Regions from separate parts of the Homo sapiens genome. Here regions 1 and 3 are each linked to region 2. The links are contacts of gene promoters, found by promoter capture Hi-C in human tissues and cell types (Jung and others, 2019). All regions are on one chromosome and are shown on one strand. The core of a region is centred on a gene start or on the middle of the fragment in contact, and the rest is flanking DNA. Distances in the headings are between cores, read along the strand shown. Region 1 has its middle 3.1 kb from the start of MAGEL2. Region 2 holds the start of SNURF (SNRPN upstream open reading frame). Region 3 has its middle 23 kb from the start of MAGEL2.

The links. Contacts are between HindIII fragments. The study calls those that stand out against the background at their distance.
Region 1: a fragment that was not itself captured here is called in contact with the fragment with the promoter of SNURF in region 2 in 1 of the 25 tissues and cell types used here (dorsolateral prefrontal cortex).
Region 3: a contact is called between a fragment that was not itself captured here and the fragment with the promoter of SNURF in region 2, in 1 of the 25 tissues and cell types used here (dorsolateral prefrontal cortex).

What each region holds. Positions count from the first base shown.
Region 1 is chr15:23,649,625-23,652,324 of GRCh38, reverse strand. No RefSeq gene overlaps it. Among named protein-coding and RNA genes, the nearest start is that of MAGEL2, 3.1 kb to the right of the region's middle. The HindIII fragment of the contact is 3,194 bases long and covers 1-2,700 here.
Region 2 is chr15:24,953,625-24,956,324 of GRCh38, reverse strand. It overlaps SNURF (SNRPN upstream open reading frame), which reads right to left and starts at 1,338. Exons shown (of 3, transcript NM_001394334.1): 1 at 1,263-1,338. The coding sequence starts at 1,276. It overlaps SNRPN (small nuclear ribonucleoprotein polypeptide N), which reads right to left and starts at 1,338. Exons shown (of 10, transcript NM_003097.6): 1 at 1,263-1,338. All of the region lies in intron 4 of SNHG14 (small nucleolar RNA host gene 14), which reads right to left. RefSeq lists enhancers at 1-357, 358-923. The HindIII fragment of the contact is 13,657 bases long and covers 1-2,700 here.
Region 3 is chr15:23,623,338-23,626,239 of GRCh38, reverse strand. No RefSeq gene overlaps it. Among named protein-coding and RNA genes, the nearest start is that of MAGEL2, 23 kb to the left of the region's middle. The HindIII fragment of the contact is 3,876 bases long and covers 1-2,902 here.

The sequences.
Region 1 (2,700 bases), core at 45-2,544, 1.3 Mb after region 2:
GTGAGAGAGCAAGACCCTGCCTGGTGGTCAGCGGCAAAAAGAAAAAAAAAGAATGCAAGCTCTCACAACGAATAGATTGGGATTTAAATCTGAATTCTGATATGTATTGCTAGATCTTCTGAGCCTCAAATTCTTGCCATGTAAAATCAAGCCAAATACTTATGGATTTTGTGAGAAATCAATGAATAGAGTCTATTATACTCTGAGGATGGTATTTTATCAAATAATAAATTGTTGATAACTAGTAGTTACACTATTTTAATCCTTCCAATTCTTTTTTTTTCAAACCTCATACTTATGATATCTCCTATGCTTTTTAAATAATTTTTCTACTTAGACTGTCTATCTGGATCACATGAATCTTTCACAGCCTCAGGTTTGTTTTCTTTCTTTTCACTGCTACAATCAGCATCACAGCTCCCCTCACCCCATGTTCCAAGCAGAAGTGAGTATTTGATTATTTTCATCCTCTATGACCAATATGAGGTTTAAACAATGCGACAACACCTTATTGTACTAAAAAACCATATGAATATCCCTATATGACTAACAATAGATTCGTGAAATGTCCCTATGTGACTAACGATAGATTAGATTAATGTCCCTATGTGACTAACAATAGATGTAAATAGGACTTGCATCAGATTTTTCTCTGTAGTCTTATCTATAGCACAGTGCTGGGCATATAGTGAATGCTTAATAAAAGGTATTTCATAAATAAGTAATTTTAGAGTTTATGAAAATCATAACTGATTTTGTTACTCACTTATGAATATTTACACAAAGTCTAACAGCTACAGAAGATTGGAAGACAGGCAGTTCTGGTGCTAATCTTACCATTTCATTTTGTAGCTCCTTAGTGACCACTCAATGCGAGCTGGGGATACCAAGGTGAGCAAAACAGGCTCCCGTCTGCTCCTAGTTCCGCAATTTTCCTACTCCCATCACAATACTTCAGTTCTCCCTTCCCTGTTTTTAAAAATCATTTTGTATACTGCTGTTATATACTGACGTAAGCCATTAAAAGTCCTTTCTAATTAGGGAACAGAGGCCAACATTTCATGGATGTTTTGTATGTTTTTCCCTTTTGTTTTCTACTCACCTTGAATTTTCAAGCTGTTTCATATAAAAGTGAGGAAAGGGAATTTTGACAACACTTGGTTCAAAGGTGTTGAGGAGGAAGAACATATGCACAGAAAGGGAAAGAGGGCTTCAGGAAGCAGGAAGGTTTCACAGGAGTGATTTGGGAAGACCCAACACTTGTGGTCTAATGCCTCACTAGACTCAGGGCAATATTATGTTTTGCTGTGATTAAGGCAGTCAGTTTTCAAAAACGACCCGTATGTCCCTGTTTCCTCAGGTGAATTTTGCTCACAAGTAATTTGTAAATAGCTAGGGAGAGCCCCAGGAACAGCCTGGGTCTGAGAGCACTGACTATCTGAAATAAGCAGATGTTTCTTCCAGGGAGAATAAACTGGGTTTACCCTCTTTACTTGTTCCTATAGAATCAATGGATACATAATCTCTGATTTTTCCCTGCCGGTTAAAGAATGTTTCCAAGCAGTGGCAATAGTGCTGGTGTAGAAGTTATTCATCTTCCATTTCTAACTACTCCTACGCACCTGTTTTTTCCTTTGTATAATGCCTAATCTTTTCTTTCTGGCTTTGGTGTTGCCTCTTAACATAAACCGGACCTCTTTTCATAGAACAGATTCGGTGGGAGTTGACACTGTATGTCAGTGCTATTCACTGACCTCCAACATCAGTGAGAATAGCCAGACCCTAGTGGGAGCCATTCATTGTGTGGGATGACCAACAGCATGGTGGACGGCAGGACAAACCTGTCATAATTCCCGAAAATAAACGGTTAGTGGGAGAACTTAATCTCTGTGTAGTTTATACATTTGCATTAGAGTGGAAAAAAAGTATGCTTTAGAAATGCCCTAGGCTAAAAAATAAACTGATTTTTCCAAAGCCATCCATAGCCAGTAACAGCCATGTAGCAGAGTTGATAATAGCAGGTCCTGAGGGTTAGGCATTTAGAGTTTGTCCTTCTACAGTGTTTCCAAACCCCCATGAAACTGAGAAATCCTGTGTGGATCTGGGCCATTAACCCAAGGGAGAAACGAAAACCATGAAACACGGTAGTATCCATTCTGCAGAAGCTTTTTGTGTGCTGTGGTAGATGGCCTTCTCTGGGGATACACAGGAGTGATGTCCAGTAGTCCACCCTTATCCTTGGGGGATATATTCTGAGACCCCCCTGTGGAGGCCTGAAACTGGAAATAGTACTGAATCCTATATGTACTACGATGTTTTCAACTGATAGCCGAGACAGCTACTAAGTGAATAACAGGCGGGTAGCATATACAGCATGGATACACTAGACAAAGGGATAATTCATGCCCCAGGCAGGACGAAACAGAACAATTTCATAATACTACTCAGAATGGCATGCAATCTAAAGCTTATAAATTATTTCTGGAAATTTCCATTTAATTTTTTGGACTGCATTTGATTGCAGGTAACTGAAACCACACAATGTGAAACTGCAGGCACAGGAGTGCTACTGTATTCGCTACCTGCTCATTAACCACTTAGTAGCTGCTTCAGATATCAGATCTACCATCGGTTTCCCAGTGTTTGTGTTCAAGGAACCCTTGTTTTACTTAGTAATAGCCCCAAAATGTAAGAATAGTG
Region 2 (2,700 bases), core at 89-2,588:
GCAGCGGCGGCCATCTTGAAGGAGCTGCACAATGGCAGTGACGCAACACAGACCCCCAGGTTATTTCGACATAGCCTTCCAAGACCTGGTTCCCAACAGAGAGAAACAATGAAAAAAAAGTAACCCCCAGGCATCACCTGGCCTATCAGTCAAAAGATCTGTAAATGCAAGTTCTGCACATCATTCCAGTCTTCTTATGCCATAGCCTCTAAAGCGAGGGTTCCTAAAGGGTACGCAAGGATTCCACGCATTTCTGCAGCCCCTGCGGCAGTGTAGGCATTGCGCAGTTTTAATAAAAAAGCACCACCACCACAGTAGGCAAACCAGATGACCATCGCAGGTCACAGGAAAATTAAAGGCTGCGGACTGTGCTACTGCCCCTTCTGATGCCCCCTCCTCTACACAGCAATCATTCAGCGTCCCTTAGTCACTCCGGACAGCGACAGGCCCCGCGGCCGCCATGCCCACCGCCTCCATGCCATGCCCACCGCCGCCATGCCTACCGCCGCCAAAGTCCACCACCGCCATGCCTACCCGCTGCCAATGCCCACCGCCGCCAATACCCACTGTCGCCGCCTTCCCCCTACCTCCCAGCCACTTCCTACGGACTCTCCCCGCGCCGCGACCACCAACACAACCCCCACCACTGTCACACCGACTCATCCCCCTGGTCCACTGCCATAGCCTCCTCGCCTCGGTCACTGCGACGAATTCCCCCCCCAGTCGCCCCACGTACCCTGCTCCACCACGCAGTGGTCACTATTATACACCTACCTGCGCTCAACACCCCCTAAATACCGATCACTTCACGTACCTTCGCCCCGCCACAATCACTCCAATATACCTACCTCCGCCTAAAATCCCTATGCACTGGTCCCCCCACGTACCCTCGCCACACGGAACTGCAATCACCCTGATGTACCCACCTCCACCCATGTCCCTTGCCCACTGCGGTTACCCCGCATGCTCCCAGTCACCACCGCCCTTCCCACCGCAGACACCCGCAATAGGACCTGTCGCGACACCACAGTTGGGGGCGGATGGGGGACGCGCCCCAATGCGAGCGGACAGGATACCATCGGGGCAGAACGGCACAACAGCAAGCCTCTGAACATTCCGGATCTGGTTCTCCAGAACAAAGGACTTTAGGGCCCAAATTCCGTTTATTCAGTACTCCAAGTCCTAAAAACTTGGAATATCTGATGAATAAAAGTGGCCGCTCCCCAGGCTGTCTCTTGAGAGAAGCCACCGGCACAGCTGACCTTGCCCGCTCCATCGCGTCACTGACCGCTCCTCAGACAGATGCGTCAGGCATCTCCGGCGGCCGCTCCACTCTGCGCCAGACTCGCTGCAGCAGCGGCAGGCTTCGCACACATCCCCGCCTGAGCATGCGCGCCAGCCTGCCTCTGCGGCCGCGCAGGCGTGCTTGTTTGCCGCAGTGCAGGGGTCCCAGCTCCCTCCCTCACCGGAATGACCTGGGGGGAGGGGGCTACTGGACCCCTAGGGCCCCACAGCACTGTTGCAATGAGAGGGGGCCTCTAGAAACCATAAGCAACCTGGGATCAATGGACATGTCTACCTGTTTTTTAAAATGTGTAAAATACTAAAGAAATAATTCTTGGTTCTACAATAAATTTTTGCACACACCACTGGCCAAACAATCCTAATTTACACTCACCCTCAGGTCTTCCTATGTGCGGTACAAAAAAGCTGGTTTGGAAAAGTTAAATGCGCCATAACCACAATCAATGCAAATACGCCAGACTTGAAATCCTTCCAAAAGAAAATATCCCTAACTCTAAAAGCATGCTACATTGTTCAAATTTGGTGCGATTTTTCTACCCTTTTTCTACTTTCTACATTTTGAGGGGGTAAATTGTGAAAATTATCTCCCCCAAAATCACAATATAATTAAACTCTCCTATACGGAATGGATAGATCATTCAACTCAAAAACACTGGCTATTCAATTTTTGTAAAACAAAAATATGAACTTAGACCCCCACCTAAGATCTAAGTAGGAGAGCCTTTCTTTGCCTATTAGAATTGGATACATTAAAATTTTTACCAATAATCAATGATAGCTGGAGTGGGGAGAAACAGGCACTTTTATATAATACTAATGGACAAGTAAACATTATTTACGACATAATATTCTATCTGCAGAAATAACGGAAGCATCAGTAACTCCAAAATTTAGACGCTGATGTAGCTTGGGAAAAGACACTGCAGAAAAGAAGAAAATAATCCTGAAACTGCATCTGCATAGTTTTTACACACATTTGCCCTTTCTCAATTGCCCATTATCGAAGAAGGGAGGGTGATGTGAGTGGAGGTTGACTAAATGGTTAAATCCCCTCCCAAGCCCTGTAAGCTACTGCTCAGTTCCCAATGATCCTACATTAAAACAGGTGCGCAGAGGCTTATCAATGCTGACTTCTATCGTAACAAAATCTCAGAAACTGTGTAATGTTCCTCACAGAGAACAGATAGGCTAACTAAATAAACGTATATATAAATAATAACATGCAATATGGCTGATGGAAAAAATGATGTATTAGGCTGAATCATATAAAATTGTCAATATTGAATTGTTTTGACCTACAAAAACATTGCAATTTCTAATAGTTCATTGATACATATTCACATAAAATAACATGGGAAGTTGACTCTGATCACGGGAGTCAATCGAAAAATAAAA
Region 3 (2,902 bases), core at 325-2,824, 1.3 Mb after region 2:
AAGACAATTAGATATCCATACAATAATAATGGGAGATGTCAACGCCCCACTGACAGTATTAGATAGATTATAGAAGCAGAAAACTCACAAAGTTATTCAGGACCTAAAACTCGACACTTGGCCAAATAGACCTAACATAACAACAACAGAATATACATTTTTCTCAGCTGCCCATGGCATATACACTCTATAATCACTCACACACTCAGCCACAAAGCAATTCGCAACAAATTCAAAATAAATGAAATCATCCCAACCACATGGTCAGACACAGTACGGTAAAAATAGAAATCAATACCAAGAAGATCTCTCAAAATCACACGATTACATGGAAATTAAAAAATCTACTACTGAATTTGGGTAAACAATAAAATTATGGCAAAAATCAAGACATTTTTTGAAACTAATGAAAACACAGATACAACATACCAGAATATCTGGGACACAGCTAAACAGTGTGAAGAGGAAAGTTTACAGCATTAAATGACTACATGTAAAAGTTAGAAATACCTCAAATTAACAAACTAAAATCACACCTAAAGGAACTAGAAAAGCAAGAGCGAACTGATGACAAGGGTAACAGAAGAAAATAAATAACCCAAATCAGAGCTGACCTGAATGAAATGTAGATGAGAAAAACCATGTAAAACATATCAAAGAAACCAAAAGCATGTTCGTTAAAATAATAAATAAGATTGGTAGACTGCTAGCTAGACAAAGAAAGTAAAAAGATCCGAATAAACACAATAAGAAATGACAAAGAGGACATTACTACTAATCCCAAAGAAATACAAAAAGTCCTCAGAGGCTATTATGAACACCTTTATGTACACAAACTAGAAAACCTAGAGGAAATGGTTAAATTCCTGGAATTGAATCTGGAAGAAATTGAAAACCTGAACATACCAATAATAAGTTTCAAAATTGAATCAGTAATTTAAAAAATACCAACCCCAAAAAGTCCTGGACCAGAGAGATTCACAGCTGAATTGTATCAGACATATAAAGAGATTCAGTAGTATCAATACTACTGAAACTATTCCAAAAAATAGAGGAGGAGGGACTCCTCCCTAACTCATTCTGTGATGCCAGCATTATTCTGATATCAAAACCTGGTAGAGACACAATGAAAAAAGAAAACTTCAGGCCAATATCCCTGATAAACATAGATGTAAAAATCCTCAACAAAATATAAGCAAAATGAATCCAGCAGCACATCAAAAGGATAATCCACCACAATCAAGTAGGCTTTATTCTTGGGGTGCCAAGTTGGTTCAACAGATGCAAATTTTAAAAAATGTGATTAATCACATAACCAACTAGAAACAAAAAACACATGATTATTTCAACAGATGTAGAAAAGACTCTCACTAAAATTCAACATCCCTTTATGTTAAAAGCCCTCAATCAACTAAGCATCGAAGGAACATACCTCAAAATAATAAGAACCATCTGTGACAAACCCACAGCCAACATCATACTGAATGGGCAAAAGCTGGAAGCATTCCCCTTGAGAACTGGAACAAAACAAGGATGCCCACTCTCACCATTTCTATTCAACATAGTACTGGAAGTCCCAGCTAGAGCAATGAGGAAAGAGAAAGCAATAAAAGGCTCCAAATAAGAAGAAAAGAAGTCAAACTATCTCTCTTCACAGATTGTATGATTCTATACCTAAGGAAACGCCATGTTATCTGTCCAAAGCTTCCTAGGTCTCATAAACAACTTAAACAAAGTTTTAGGATACAAAATCAATGTACAAAAATCAGTAGTATTTTTATATACCAATAACATCCAATCTGAGAGCCAAATCAACAACACAATCCCCTTCACATTAGACATACAAAAAATATAATATATATAGAAATCCAGCTAACCAGGGAGGTGAAAGACCTTTACAACACGAATTAAAAAACACTGCTGAAAGAAATCAGAGACAACACAAATGGAAAAACATTTCATGCTCATGGATAGGAAGAATCAATATTGTTAAAATGGCCATACTACCCAAAACAATTTATAGATTCAATGCTTTTCCTATCCAACTACCGAGGACATTTTTCACAGAATTAGAAAAAAACTATTCCAAAATTCATATGGAACAGAAAAGAGCCCAAATAGCCAAGGCAATCCCAAGCAAAAAGTACAAAGCTAGAGGCATCACTCTACCCAACTTCAAACTATACTGCAAGGCTACAGTAACCAAAACATCATGGTACTGACACAAAAACAGATACAAAGATCAACAGAACAGGTTAGGGAATCCAGAAATAAAGCCATATACTTATTTTTACAAATGTGAGAAAATATTTACAAAATATGCATCCAACAAAGGCCCAATATCCAGAGTCTATAAGGAACTTAAGCAAATCAACATGTTAAAAACAATCTCATTTAAAAATGCTGAAAGAACATGAACAGACATTTCTCAAAATAAGACATACACGTGGCCAGCAAGGATATGAAAAACTGCTCAACATCACTAATCATCAAAGAAATACAAATTAAAACATCAATGACATACTATCTCATACCAGTCAGAATGGCTATTATTAAAAAGTAAAAAAAACAAACAAACAAAAAAAAGCACATGTTGATGATGTTGCAGAGAAAAAGGATGGCTATTGAGGATATAAATTAGTTCAGCCATTGTGGAAAGCAGTTTGAAGATTTCTCAAAAAGCTTAAAACAGAACTACCATTGGATCCAGCAATCCCATTACTGAGTATATACCCAAAAGAATATAAATTTTTTTACCATAAAGGCATATGCATGTGTATGTTCATCATAACACTATTCACAATACAAAGACATGGAATCAACCTAGATGTCCATCAACTGTGGACTGGATAAAGAAAATGTGGTACATATACACCATGGAATACTATGCAGCCATAAAAAA